Linked DNA regions of Homo sapiens: all the other regions are linked to region 2. The links are contacts of gene promoters, found by promoter capture Hi-C in blood cells and fetal thymus (Javierre and others, 2016). All regions are on one chromosome and are shown on one strand. The core of a region is centred on a gene start or on the middle of the fragment in contact, and the rest is flanking DNA. Distances in the headings are between cores, read along the strand shown.

Region 1 (2,908 bases), core at 45-2,544, 150 kb before region 2:
ATCTGTATGTCTTGTATTTCTTTTTCTTGCTATATTGCACTGGCTAGAACTTCTACTACCCTGTTGAAGAAGATGTTGAAAGCAGACATCTTTGTCTTATTCCCAATCTCAGTGGGAAGACGTTCAGTTGGCACCATTAAGTATGATGTTAGATGTTTTTTTTTTTTTGTAAATGCTTTTTCACAAATTGAGATATTTTTCGTCTGTTCCTACTTCAGTGAGTTTTTTTGAAAAATAGGGATCATACTTTGCTTTCACAGGATTGCTGTGATGATTCTAGGTGAAACATAAGTAAAAGTTTATGGCTGTTGTGGGCCCTCAAATAAGGTTTAGAAAAACAACCTTTGGACAACATTAAGGCGAGTCATTACAACTTAAAGTGAAACCTTCTGTAGACAAATGATCTCACATCTTCACTTCTAGGTATCTCTTCTGAAGAAACATTGGCTCATGTCCCAGAGATTTATATACAAGGAAGTTTACTGCAACCATGGCTGCAACAGAAAAAGCCATTGTGTACCACAGTGTCTATTTAGCCAATTGTCCATCTTTAGCTATTCTGAATGCCTAAAGATAGACAATTGGCTAAATAGAAATTGTGGTACATCCATACAATGGAATACCATGAAGCCATCGACAAAACATCAAGATTCTATTGACCAACATGGAAAGAGTGCCATGGATGGGCACGGTGGCTCACACCTGTAATCCCAGCACTTTGGGAGGCCAAGATGGTTATATCACCTGAGGTCAGGAGTTTGAGACTAGCCTGGCCAACATGGCGAAACCCTGTCTCTACTAAAAATACAAAAATTAGGTGGGCATGGAGGCAGGCACCTGTAATCCCAGCTACTCAGGAGTCTGAGGCAGGAGAATCGCTTGAATCTGGGAGGTGGAGGTTGCAGTGAGCTGAGATTGTGCCATTGCACTCCAGCCTGGGCAACAAGAGCAAAATCTCAAAAAGAAAAAAAAAAGAGAGAGAAAAAGTGCCAAGACACAAGGTTAGGTGAACAAAGGAAGTCTCAAAACAGAACAATTTGATTTTATATTTATAAATGGCATAATATATAAATATGGCTTATAAATTTATACTTATATCTACATACATATAGTATATAAGTATGTATTTTTAAAACCCAGTCATATATTGTAAACACATTCCTAAGTGCATAGAAAAAGGCCTAGAAGGACTTGACACTCATTTGTTAACATCGGACATCCTTCGGGAAATGAATGGGATTGGGTAGAGTACAAAGGGGTACAAAAGATCACTTTAAAAAACTTTATAAATATATTTGGTCTTTAAAACATTTTTTTACAATGATAATGTTTATATTTACTATCTGTTTACCTAAATAAGACTCAGGTAGTATGGGGCAGGGAGTAGCAATTTCTAGTGGTAAAATTTCAGACAATTGTTTTCCATAGTCACTGGGACCCAGAATTCCTGAGCTCTCTTTGTTCTATTGCTGGCTGCAATATTAGTTGTATGATTTTGGACAAGTCACTTTCTCTCTCTGGGCCTCAGATTCCTCTTGTAATGAGGAGATTAAACTAGAGTACCCATGGATAAGCATTTTTATTATTCACATTTAAGCATCTGACCTCTCTTTGCAAATAGGTTTTTGTATGTGGAACCTTTATGTATACAACAGAAGAAAGCATGTCAACAACCCAACTATTTGTACCCCGGATCCATTTCAGCACTAACGTTTTCTGACTGGAGTTGAAGGCAGTGAACCCAAAGCCACCCGTCAGAACTATACTGCCCCTCAGCTGAGTGAAAAATAACTGGGTGATTTCAAGTGACCCACAGAAGCTCAGGAGTGACAGTTGCTCTCATAAAATGTGTTCCCTGAGCATTAAGCCCTGGTGTTGGCAGGGTCTGATAGCTCAGGGACTGTTTGAGCTCCAAGGAGATCATTACTGTTTCTAGAGAGTTCTATGAGGACCCTGGGTCTTTGGAAGAACTATCCATTTGTGGTTTTTAGGAGAATCAGGTCCTAGATCACTGAAGCCACAGCCCATGGCCCAGAGCTGTAGCTTTACTGCTTTGGGGCTGCAGCAGGGAGGCGAGGCCACCTGGGGAAGCTGAGGGCAAGAGTAGAGGTCAAGTGCAACACACAGCATGCTGTGAAATATGAGAAAGGCTCATAGTGTCTTTTCTTTGAAATGAAAAGCGCCATCTCGAGTTCTGTGGAATTGGGTCCAGCCTTCCTTGGCTATAACAGGCATGATAAGGATCATTTTGCCTCCTTTAGGAGCAGGGCTAGATGTCCTACAATTCTCTGCATTAGTTGAGCCCATGGACAGTAACAGCCATAGTCTGAGATATAAAAAAAAAAACAGCACATCGCCCAGAAAAAAGCCTGGGCCCTGTGCTTTTGGGATTCTATTCGCACGTGTTTCGGACTGGCAAGACTCAAACCCAGAAAGAGGGACTCCCTGAGAGGGGAAAGGCGGACGTGCAGGGCCACTCTGGCCTAAGTCTTCTCTGTGGATCGAAGCAGAAGGTAGGAAGCCGGTGTTTTATACCTCCCTGCCTTTCCCTGCCCATTTGTGGGATGGAGAGCTGGGGGCCTGGGTGAATGACCTGTTGTAGTTCAGGTCCACACTCCTACCAAGGCACACCAGCATGGAGGGCGGGAGACCTGGGCTCAAGCCCCAGTTGGGCCACTTTCTCATCGAGGCTAGTCACATGCCTTTGCAGGTTCTCAGTTTCATTGTTTTTAAAAAGACCATTAGATTAGATACTTTTAAAGGTCCCTGCCAGTAACACTCAGTGATTCTAGAACTAGATTGTAAGAGCCTGGCAGGGTTCCACTTATTTGGTAAGAGGAAAGGAATAAGCTATAATGGTTAAGTGTGTGGAAACTGGAATTAGATTTCCTGAGTTCAACTCCTGATT
Region 2 (2,807 bases), core at 155-2,654:
ACTAAAAATACCAGTTGCACTAACTAACATCATGGAGGTCATTGGTGATGCTAGTGATTTTTTTGTTGTTGTTGTTGCAGGAGAAATGTTAAGGTTAGTGGAAAATTGATGAAATGGAAACATTGTGAGTAAAAAGAGAAAAGAAAAGCTGAGGGACTATTTGGGGATGGGGGTGGAGGGATGGAGAGTTTAGTTGGTAGTGCGAAGTTTCCAAGAAGATAGGTAGGAAAGTGAGTACCAGTAAAGGGCTTATTAAAATACCAAAGAGCCCAGCACTTTGGGAGGCTGAGGCGGGCAGATCATGAGGTCAAGAGATCAAGACCATCCTGGCCAACATGGTGAAACCCAGTCTCTACTAAAAATGCAAAAATTAGCTGGGCATGGTGGCGCACACCTGTAGTCCTAGCTACTTGGGAGGCTGAGGCAGGAGAATTGCTTGAACCCGGGAGGCAGAGGTTGCAGTGAGCCGAAATCCTGCCATTGCACTCCAGACTGGTGACACAGTGAAACTCCATCACAAAAAAAAAAAAAAAAAAAAAAAAGGTCACAGAGGGACTCTGTATTGTAACAGGAGGGAAGAAAGAAAACGGCAGGGTGCAGACTTGAGTAGATTTCTGTTTGGTAGAGGTGAGATGAAGGGATTGGCTTCTATTTTCTCTGTAATGAAAGAGGAGGGATTAACTACTTTTCTAGGTGTTAATAAGGGTGCCTTGTAAACGAATTGTTTTATATGTGAATGGATGCCTTAGCTTTCTAACTTTCACAGGTAAGTAAATATATATCCATGTTCATAGCGGTGGGAACAGAAACAATAGGTGTTTAAAAATACTAGATTGAGGCCGGGCGCGGTGGCTCACGCCTGTAATCCCAGCACTTTGGGAGGCCGAGGTGGGCGGATCACGAGGTCAGGAGATCGAGACCATCCTGGCTAACCCGGTGAAACCCCGTCTCTACGAAAAATATAAAAATTAGCCGGGCATGGTGGCAGGCACCTGTAGTCCCAGCTACTCGAGAGGCTGAGACAGGAGGATGGCGTGAACCCAGGAGGCGGAGCTTGCAGTGAGCCGAGATCGCGCCACTGCACTCCAGCCTAGGCAACAGCGAGACTCCGTCTCAAAAAAGAAAAATACTAGATTGATTTTGATTCTAATAGTGATGATAATTAATCTGATGATATTCTGATGGCAAGGAAAAGTATAAGCTCCAATCAGGCCCCTGTCGTAAGCCGCCTGACAAGTGAGAGAAATGAGGTTCACAGTTGGCTGGTCACAGCACAGGGAAAGGAAATCCACCCCCACGCTCCTTCTGGTCCAGGACCCTAAGGGTTAAGATCAACGAGAGTGGGCCATCACTGTTTCCTAGAACGGCCCCAGCAAAGCCGCCGGGGGAGATGAGGGTAACTTCCTGTTTCTGCCTTCCGGGTTTGAGAGTTTAGGACCCTGGGTTGGTGGGGTCAGAGGGAGAGGGGGTACCTTCCTCCCGGACCGCTGGGGGTGCAGGGCGCCTTGGGTGTAGCACCCAGAACAGTGAGTTCCTTCTTGGGGGGAAGGGAGCCGAGGGTTGCGGGCTAGAGGAGTGGAAACAGCCCCGTCCAGGCTGCAGTGGACGTCCGGGAGAGAGTTCCCGCTGCTGCCAGGGGCGAAGGCCCAGCATCTCCCGCCGACGGGCCACCGTCATCCTTGTCCGCGGGGTCCCTTACGGGATCTTGTCGGCCGGAGACCGTCTGGTATCCTGGAACTTCACCCCCCAGCGTCTCCAACTTGTACCAGCCAGCGGTTCTTAAAACTAGGCTTCAGGCAGTGCATTTTCTTTGAAGGCTTTCTGATCAAAGCACGGCCCCACTCTGATCACATTGTTGCTCTAGAACAGTGAAAACACTCCTTCCCCGTGGAGAGACATCTTAATGGCAGCCTTGTATGGTCTTGCATTTGCCACCATTTTGCTGAGCCACTGTTCCGGGGGCTCCTTTGCTGCCAAATTTAATAGTATTTTAGTAGGGAAAATGGGGGAGATGGTAATGTGTTGCCCAGACTCTTGCTGCTTTTGTAAATACTTTGATAACAATATGTAACTTAGGACAGCAAAATATATAACTCCATTCGAACAACTCCACCCCCTTCCTTTTTTTGCATTCAGGTGTATGGTTTTTTCTCCCCCCCAACTCAAACACTGGGGATATTAGTAATGTAGACTAGTTTCACGTTTCTCTAGAACAAATCCCCACTTGCTGAGTGTGCTTAGGGAATGTCGACTCACTTTGTTAACAAGGTTTAGGAATGTAGACCTCTGTTTTAAAATGCCAGTATTCTAAATATTCTAAAATAAAGGGACTCTGAGGATTCTTTGCAGTTTGGGATTATGCCCAGCTCTGCTTCCTGTTCTAGTTTACGATAATAGATCAGAGGGTGAAAAAGGTCAGCATCCAAACAGACTTGGAGCTCAGTCCTGCTCTACCACTTTCTAGGTGACCTTAGGAAAGTTTCTTAATACCTTTCAAACTCATCCTATAAAATGCTGGTAGTTGTTCATACACTTCAGAGGGCTACTGTAAGAATTAAATGACAAATGTGTGCAAATTATTTCATTCACTACCTGGCACATAATAGGCAGTAATGGTGAAGATACAATATAAGTACATATACTATTTTTTGTTTTTAAAATGTGTGCATTTGTATATCCTTTTACGTCCTTATTTTTCTCCCAAATAATGATACTCTTTATATTCTGAAATGGATGCCAAAAGTCCATATGTCACTGCCTTCCTGTGATAGATCACATTTTCTTCTTTTTCTTTTTCTTTTTTCTTT
Region 3 (2,926 bases), core at 137-2,636, 210 kb before region 2:
TGCTGCTCTCTCTTCTTTCTGACTCCAACCTCGACTGTTCTTTTGCCCTGGGTTACCTTGACCTTGGCATTTCCATGGAGAAGTTGACTGCTTGCCTGGACACAGTCTGCTCTCTCTTGCCCTGTGTTTTCAGAACAGGCCACTCACTCTGCACAATTAGAGAACGTGCACCTGAGAAGCCTCGCAAGCTGTGACTCTTGGGGAGAGAGCAAAGAGGAGGATGCTGGGAAGGTGGGTTCTGTGGTCTCACACTGATGGAAAAAAAAAAAAAAAGCAGACAAGGCCGGGCGCGGTGGCTGACGCATGTAATTCCAGCACTTTGGGAGGCCGAGGTGGGCGGATCACGAGGTCAGGAGATAGAGACCATCCTGGCTAACACGGTGAAACTCCATCTGTACTAAAAATACAAAAAATTAGCCGGGCATCATGGCGGGTGCCTGTAGTCTCAGCTACTGGGGAGGCTGAGGCAAGAGAATGGTGTGAACCCGGGAGGCGGAGCTTGCAGTGAACCGAGATCACACCACTGCACTCCAGCCTGGGTGAAAGAGCGAGACTCCATCCCAAAAAAATAAAAAATAAAAATAAAGAGACAAATGGTTTTCTTTCCTGCTATTATTTTGAAAGTCTTGCAGCAGTTCCAAGGAGCCAGGGAAGCTTTGGGATACCGTCCTGCTGGGTCCCTGGAAGGGTTTTCTTCATTGATAGCCTAGTCCTCACCACAGGAGGCACCAGGGTACATGTGTCTTCACACTTCCCTGTTTCTGTTGCTTAACTTGTCCCCATTCCCCACTCCGCAATTAGGATACCTGTGAGAGCTGCCATTGATTGAGTACTTAGTATTTCCCATATATGATCTTATTCCTTCTTTATAACACTTATGCAGTAAGTATTCTTATCCTCATTAAATAAATGTGGAAATTGTGTCTCAGTGAGGTTAGGTAAGTGGCCCTAGTCCACATAGGGATCTGTATGTAGTGAAACTGGGATTCAAATACAGAGTTGTTTGACTCCAAAGTCCATATTCATAAACAGTACAGGGTGTAGCTATTAGGATTTCTCTAAGAGTGTATCCTAGGATCCCCACAGGAGACAGATGGCCCATTCTAAAGGCATTATTGTGGGGAGTTTAATAAGGGATCAGTTCAAATGTGTGGGAGATTTTCAGGTAAACTGAGGAAGGCTGGCGAAACCCTGGGGGCTAGCAACAGCAGGGAGCTGCTTCCACCCTTAGGTCTGAAGACATCAGGGTAAGCAGCGCTTTCCTGAACTGGAGAGAAGGAGCCACCTGACAAGAATTGTGCCCTTGGCAGAGGACTCCAGACAATGGCCATTCTCTCCCCGGGTGTTAACATAGAGCTTGGCACTTTGTGGGCCTTCAGAATGATGAGTTAAATTTGCTGAGTGCTAGTATCACACAAGGGTAGTTTGTTCAAGTGTTGTTTATCGTGCCAAGTTAATAGGTTTGCATTCCATGCTTCCTGCTTTTGTAAATTTTTAAAGCATGCAAGCCAGATCTAATAGTTCTAATTACTTAAAGGCCTCAGTTCTTTTTAGAATTCTATGGAGCCTCTATCTCTGAGTTTCCATACTCCTTGTTTACTTATTAATGTCAGATTTTGGACTACCTTCATACTTGCTATGTACTTTGATTCTTCCCCAACAAAACTAGAAACATCAGGGAATAGATTGTACACAAAGTGATATGATAGTTGGAGTATCAGAGGAGGTGTCAGAATACTCTTCCACTGACTACTGTTTGGCAAGTGGCCAAACCTCTTTGAACCTCAGTTTTCTCATCTGCAAAATAGGGATAACAAGTAAGAACATGCGTGTGAAGGTTCTGAAGCTAATACACGCAAAAGTGTTCATGACTTTAACAGTGGAGCAAGATAGTGGATTTTAGTGACTCTCAGACAATTCTTCCATTGAGATTTTTAGAGCTATCACAGTAAAAGGCTACAAAGAAAGTCAGAGGGCTTTGGGGGTAGAACATCAGAGAGCAAGTGTAGATTGCAATCGTCTCCTAGTGAATATCTTAATCCTGAGTATTTGGGGGTTATAAATAGATTAATCTAAAGTGAAACAAATGAAAAGTATTAATGCAAAAAGTTGGCGTAAAAAGCTTCAAAAATAGAAACTAGGCTGGAAGTTTGGAAGTAAAATTCCATCATGTTCTAGAACAAGGCGGGAAAACTTTTTCTACAAAGGGCCAGATAGTGAATATTTTAGGCTTTATGAACTGGTCTCTGCCCCGTCTTACACAAAAGTAGCCATACACAAACCATAAATGGATAGATGTAGCTGGGTGCCAATGAAGCTTAATTGCAAAAGTTGGTGGCAGTCTAGATTTTGTCTGTCAACATAATTTATCAACTCCTCTTTTAAATGAGCTCAGCTTTTCTATGCCAATACAAGCTAGAGAAATTGCCCACTGTCTCCTTTATTGTTATGTTAGATGATAAGAGAGAGGATTGATATTTACTGAGCACTTGACATCAGTCACTATACGAAGCATGTGACACAGATAATCTCATTTAATCCCATGAAGGCAGTGCTATTACCTGTATCTCCATTATACATTTTTAGTGATTGAGCCGGGATCCAAATATGGTCCTGTCTTACTCTAAAGCTCAAACTCAGTCCACTTCACATTACTTACAGGTATGTCAAGCCTTTTGGCATTATGTTTAATCCACTAATGTTTAATGTAATTATCTATACATCAAATTTGAAATTAGGCCTACTATTTTAATATTTGTTTTCTGTTTTTCTCATCTGTTTTTAATTTTTATGTTCTACCTTCCTGTGGTCTCTTGCTTTAAATTCAATGTTTCTTAATCTTTTTCATTATCACCTCCTAATGAGTCTTTTAGACATTTTTTCCTAATCACATTCCCCTGAATTTTAATACCACAAATATACTGTA
Region 4 (2,700 bases), core at 2-2,501, 230 kb before region 2:
GAATGGTGGTGTTGGGGGCAGGGGGGCAGGGGGGCAGGGGGATTCTTTTTAACAAGAAACTTTTAGCTTTCCTCTCTAGATTCTCACTAAGGAAGGCTTGGTTTGGGCTAATAGGGGTGAATTTAGGCTTCTGAGCCAGGAGACATTTAGTCAATTGTTTCAAAGCAGTTCTGTCTTGTTTACTTTTAATAATGGGTTTGTTTGCTTTTAATAATAAGAACCAGACCCAGCCCTCCTATTTTCTGAAGGTTGTGAGCAGATGGAGGCTTATGACCTGGAGTTCAGTAGTAATCTTTCCAGCCACAAGTGGCCAGCGGCCACAGGCAACAAGTGAAAACAGGTTGTGTACAGGGAACCATTTCATTTGCAGGGGGTAATGCTATTTACCTGGGATCCTATCCAGCAGCTTCAAAGGTGGTGGCAGCCATTACCCGACTAATGAGCACAACACCCCTGGCTCCCTGTCTTCAAGGCAGGAAGATGCTGTGATGCACATCAGGAGATGGAGGGAAAAGAAATGACTTGCCCACCTGAGTGGCAGGTGAGTCACATTAGCCTCTCTGTGCCTCGCTTTCCTCATTTGTAAAATGAGAGGGTTGGTCCCTTCCACGTGATGTCTTCCATATGAGTCTGGCTGACCTGCAGACCTGATTTTAAGCTCTCTCTGGGTTCTTTGTCTGTTTTAGATATCTAGACATATATGTCTGTCTCTGTGTGTATGTGCATGTTTATGTGTTGCAGAAACAGTTGGGAAAAGAGATTAAGGAAGGGATGGTGCTGTTGGCTCCAGGCAGTGACTCAAGGAGGCATTCATGGTGAAAGAAGAAAGGCCTTTCTCAGGTGATGCTTCATCTTCCCCCACGTGCTCTGATACCCTGTCCCTGCCTTGATGTGTCTATAAATACAAACAGCAGGAGACCCGCATCAGTAGACAAAGCAGGTGGCTGCAACCTATTCTTCTTCCCAATGGCCACTGGGACAGTTCCTCTCCCCCAGAACTTGTTGTTTATATTTATTTTACACTAAAGCTATTTTAACATAAACCTGTTGAAATAGGAGAGGGCTTCCCATCTCACACCTCCACAGATGTGTATTTTCTAGAACAAATTCAAGACTAATCATAAAATGAAAACAGATTTCCACAAAGTTGTTCTTTATAATGTAAATTTTTTTCTGACAGGCAGCTTAATACTTCAAAGGGCAACCCATTCCTTTATTGATTATAACTAATTGTTTGAGATTTTCTTTAGCATGAGTTGAAATTTTTCTTCCTTTGTCAAAGTGAAGGAAGGGACTTGTATACAAGGAAGGTCCTTGTATAAAGGACCTATCATCAAGGTACCATCTCTCTTTAAACTTTAACTCCCAGAGGAGAAATACCTATAGCCACACAATTCATGTACTTTTTAGTCATTGGATCTCTATGACTATTATCATTATAGAAACTGTTTTAATATAATAATAATTTGAAAACTGGATTTTAAGAATACAAATTTAGAAATAGCAGTTCTCTCTAGAGACTCATTCATGAATATGGAAAGATCTTTTATCAGATAATTCCCCCCAGGGGTCCTTTAAATAGCAATCTCCTTCGTTTTGATTCAATTTGTAGAAATCCCATCTAGATGCATTACTGGACCACACATTGTGTAAAGGAAGGTACATTATGTGTTGGGTAACCATTTGGCTCTCTCTTTCTTCCCAACTTGTGACTAATTGATTTTGCCATTAATTGGGATTTCCCCTGGAGGCCATTTGATCTGTTTGCAGGATGAGCAGGGAGTTAGGGCAGTCCCTCCAGATGGGACGGCTTTCAATAAGCAGACAGTCCAAAGGGGCATCAGAGTGATACAGAAACGATTAATTGAATAACTCACTTGAAAATCATGTGCTGCTTTAAAGACCTAAAAGCTAAGTAAATACCTAAGTAAAGGCCATACTGATCAAGTAAGACTCCTTGTTGCAGCCTGGCTGAGAATAATGCCAGGAAAAAAAAAATTTAAGAGCATCCCATTAATGGATTCTTTAAAATACTGGAAGCATGATTCCAGGCAATAACATACTGTAATCCCCATAATACTCACATTTGCATAACTCTAGATAATTTATGAAGCATTTTCGCAGATACTGTGCAGATCTCACACTGACACGGGGGTGGGTTGGCTGTGAAAGGGCTCAACTGGACTTACATTCCAGGAGCAGAAACAGGCTTGGAGCTGTGGACTTCTCAGAGGCATACAACTAGTAAGTGGCAGAAATATTACCAGAACCCAAAACTTCTAATTCTAAATTTCTTGACAACACACAGCACCATCTCCCCAGTGCATCACAGCTAAAACCACCTTACTGGACTCTGTTTTACCCTGGAGAAGAAATGCATACTGACTGAGGACTCTGCTCCATGCCTGGCAAAATATTTGTATTATTTTTACAAGTATGTTTTAGTTTTATACAGATAAATACAATTTTAAATGGTTAAAGATGGCCTCATATTTAAAAAGCACATTGGGAGCCACTGTGTTAGATTATGCAGTGCAGACATAGAGAACCAAAAGGCTATGTGTGGTGGGAATAGTGAGGCAGAACAAGAACTTTCTAGAAAAGGAAAGAAAGGAGAGAACCTGTGGAGCGGAGCTGGGAACCAGGCTGGAGAGGAGAGGGAATAGCTGTCCAGGAGCAGCTATGCATGTAAACTAGACA

Evidence for each region. The method cuts DNA at HindIII sites, captures the fragments that hold promoters and counts their contacts. A CHiCAGO score of 5 or more calls a contact.
Region 1: a contact is called between a fragment that was not itself captured here and the fragment with the promoter of ZNF572 in region 2, in 2 of 17 cell types (M1 macrophages and erythroblasts). The highest score is 5.7, in M1 macrophages.
Region 3: a fragment that was not itself captured here is called in contact with the fragment with the promoter of ZNF572 in region 2 in 1 of 17 cell types (M1 macrophages); the score reaches 5.0 in M1 macrophages.
Region 4: a contact is called between a fragment that was not itself captured here and the fragment with the promoter of ZNF572 in region 2, in 7 of 17 cell types (M1 macrophages, total B cells, megakaryocytes and 4 more). The highest score is 10.5, in M1 macrophages.

The regions. Positions count from the first base shown.
Region 1 is chr8:124,821,458-124,824,365 of GRCh38, forward strand. MIR4662B (microRNA 4662b) reads right to left here and starts at 601; the gene lies at 521-601. MIR4662A (microRNA 4662a) reads left to right here and starts at 528; the gene lies at 528-594. The HindIII fragment of the contact is 3,492 bases long and covers 1-2,908 here.
Region 2 is chr8:124,971,891-124,974,697 of GRCh38, forward strand. ZNF572 (zinc finger protein 572) reads left to right here and starts at 1,405. Exons shown (of 3, transcript NM_152412.3): 1 at 1,405-1,526. RefSeq lists an enhancer at 1,348-1,507. The HindIII fragment of the contact is 4,233 bases long and covers 1-2,807 here.
Region 3 is chr8:124,766,655-124,769,580 of GRCh38, forward strand. No RefSeq gene overlaps it. Among named protein-coding and RNA genes, the nearest start is that of MTSS1, 40 kb to the left of the region's middle. The HindIII fragment of the contact is 1,468 bases long and covers 653-2,120 here.
Region 4 is chr8:124,739,066-124,741,765 of GRCh38, forward strand. The region is part of intron 2 of LOC105375741 (a long non-coding RNA gene); the gene reads left to right. Among named protein-coding and RNA genes, the nearest start is that of MTSS1, 12 kb to the left of the region's middle. The HindIII fragment of the contact is 3,547 bases long and covers 1-2,700 here.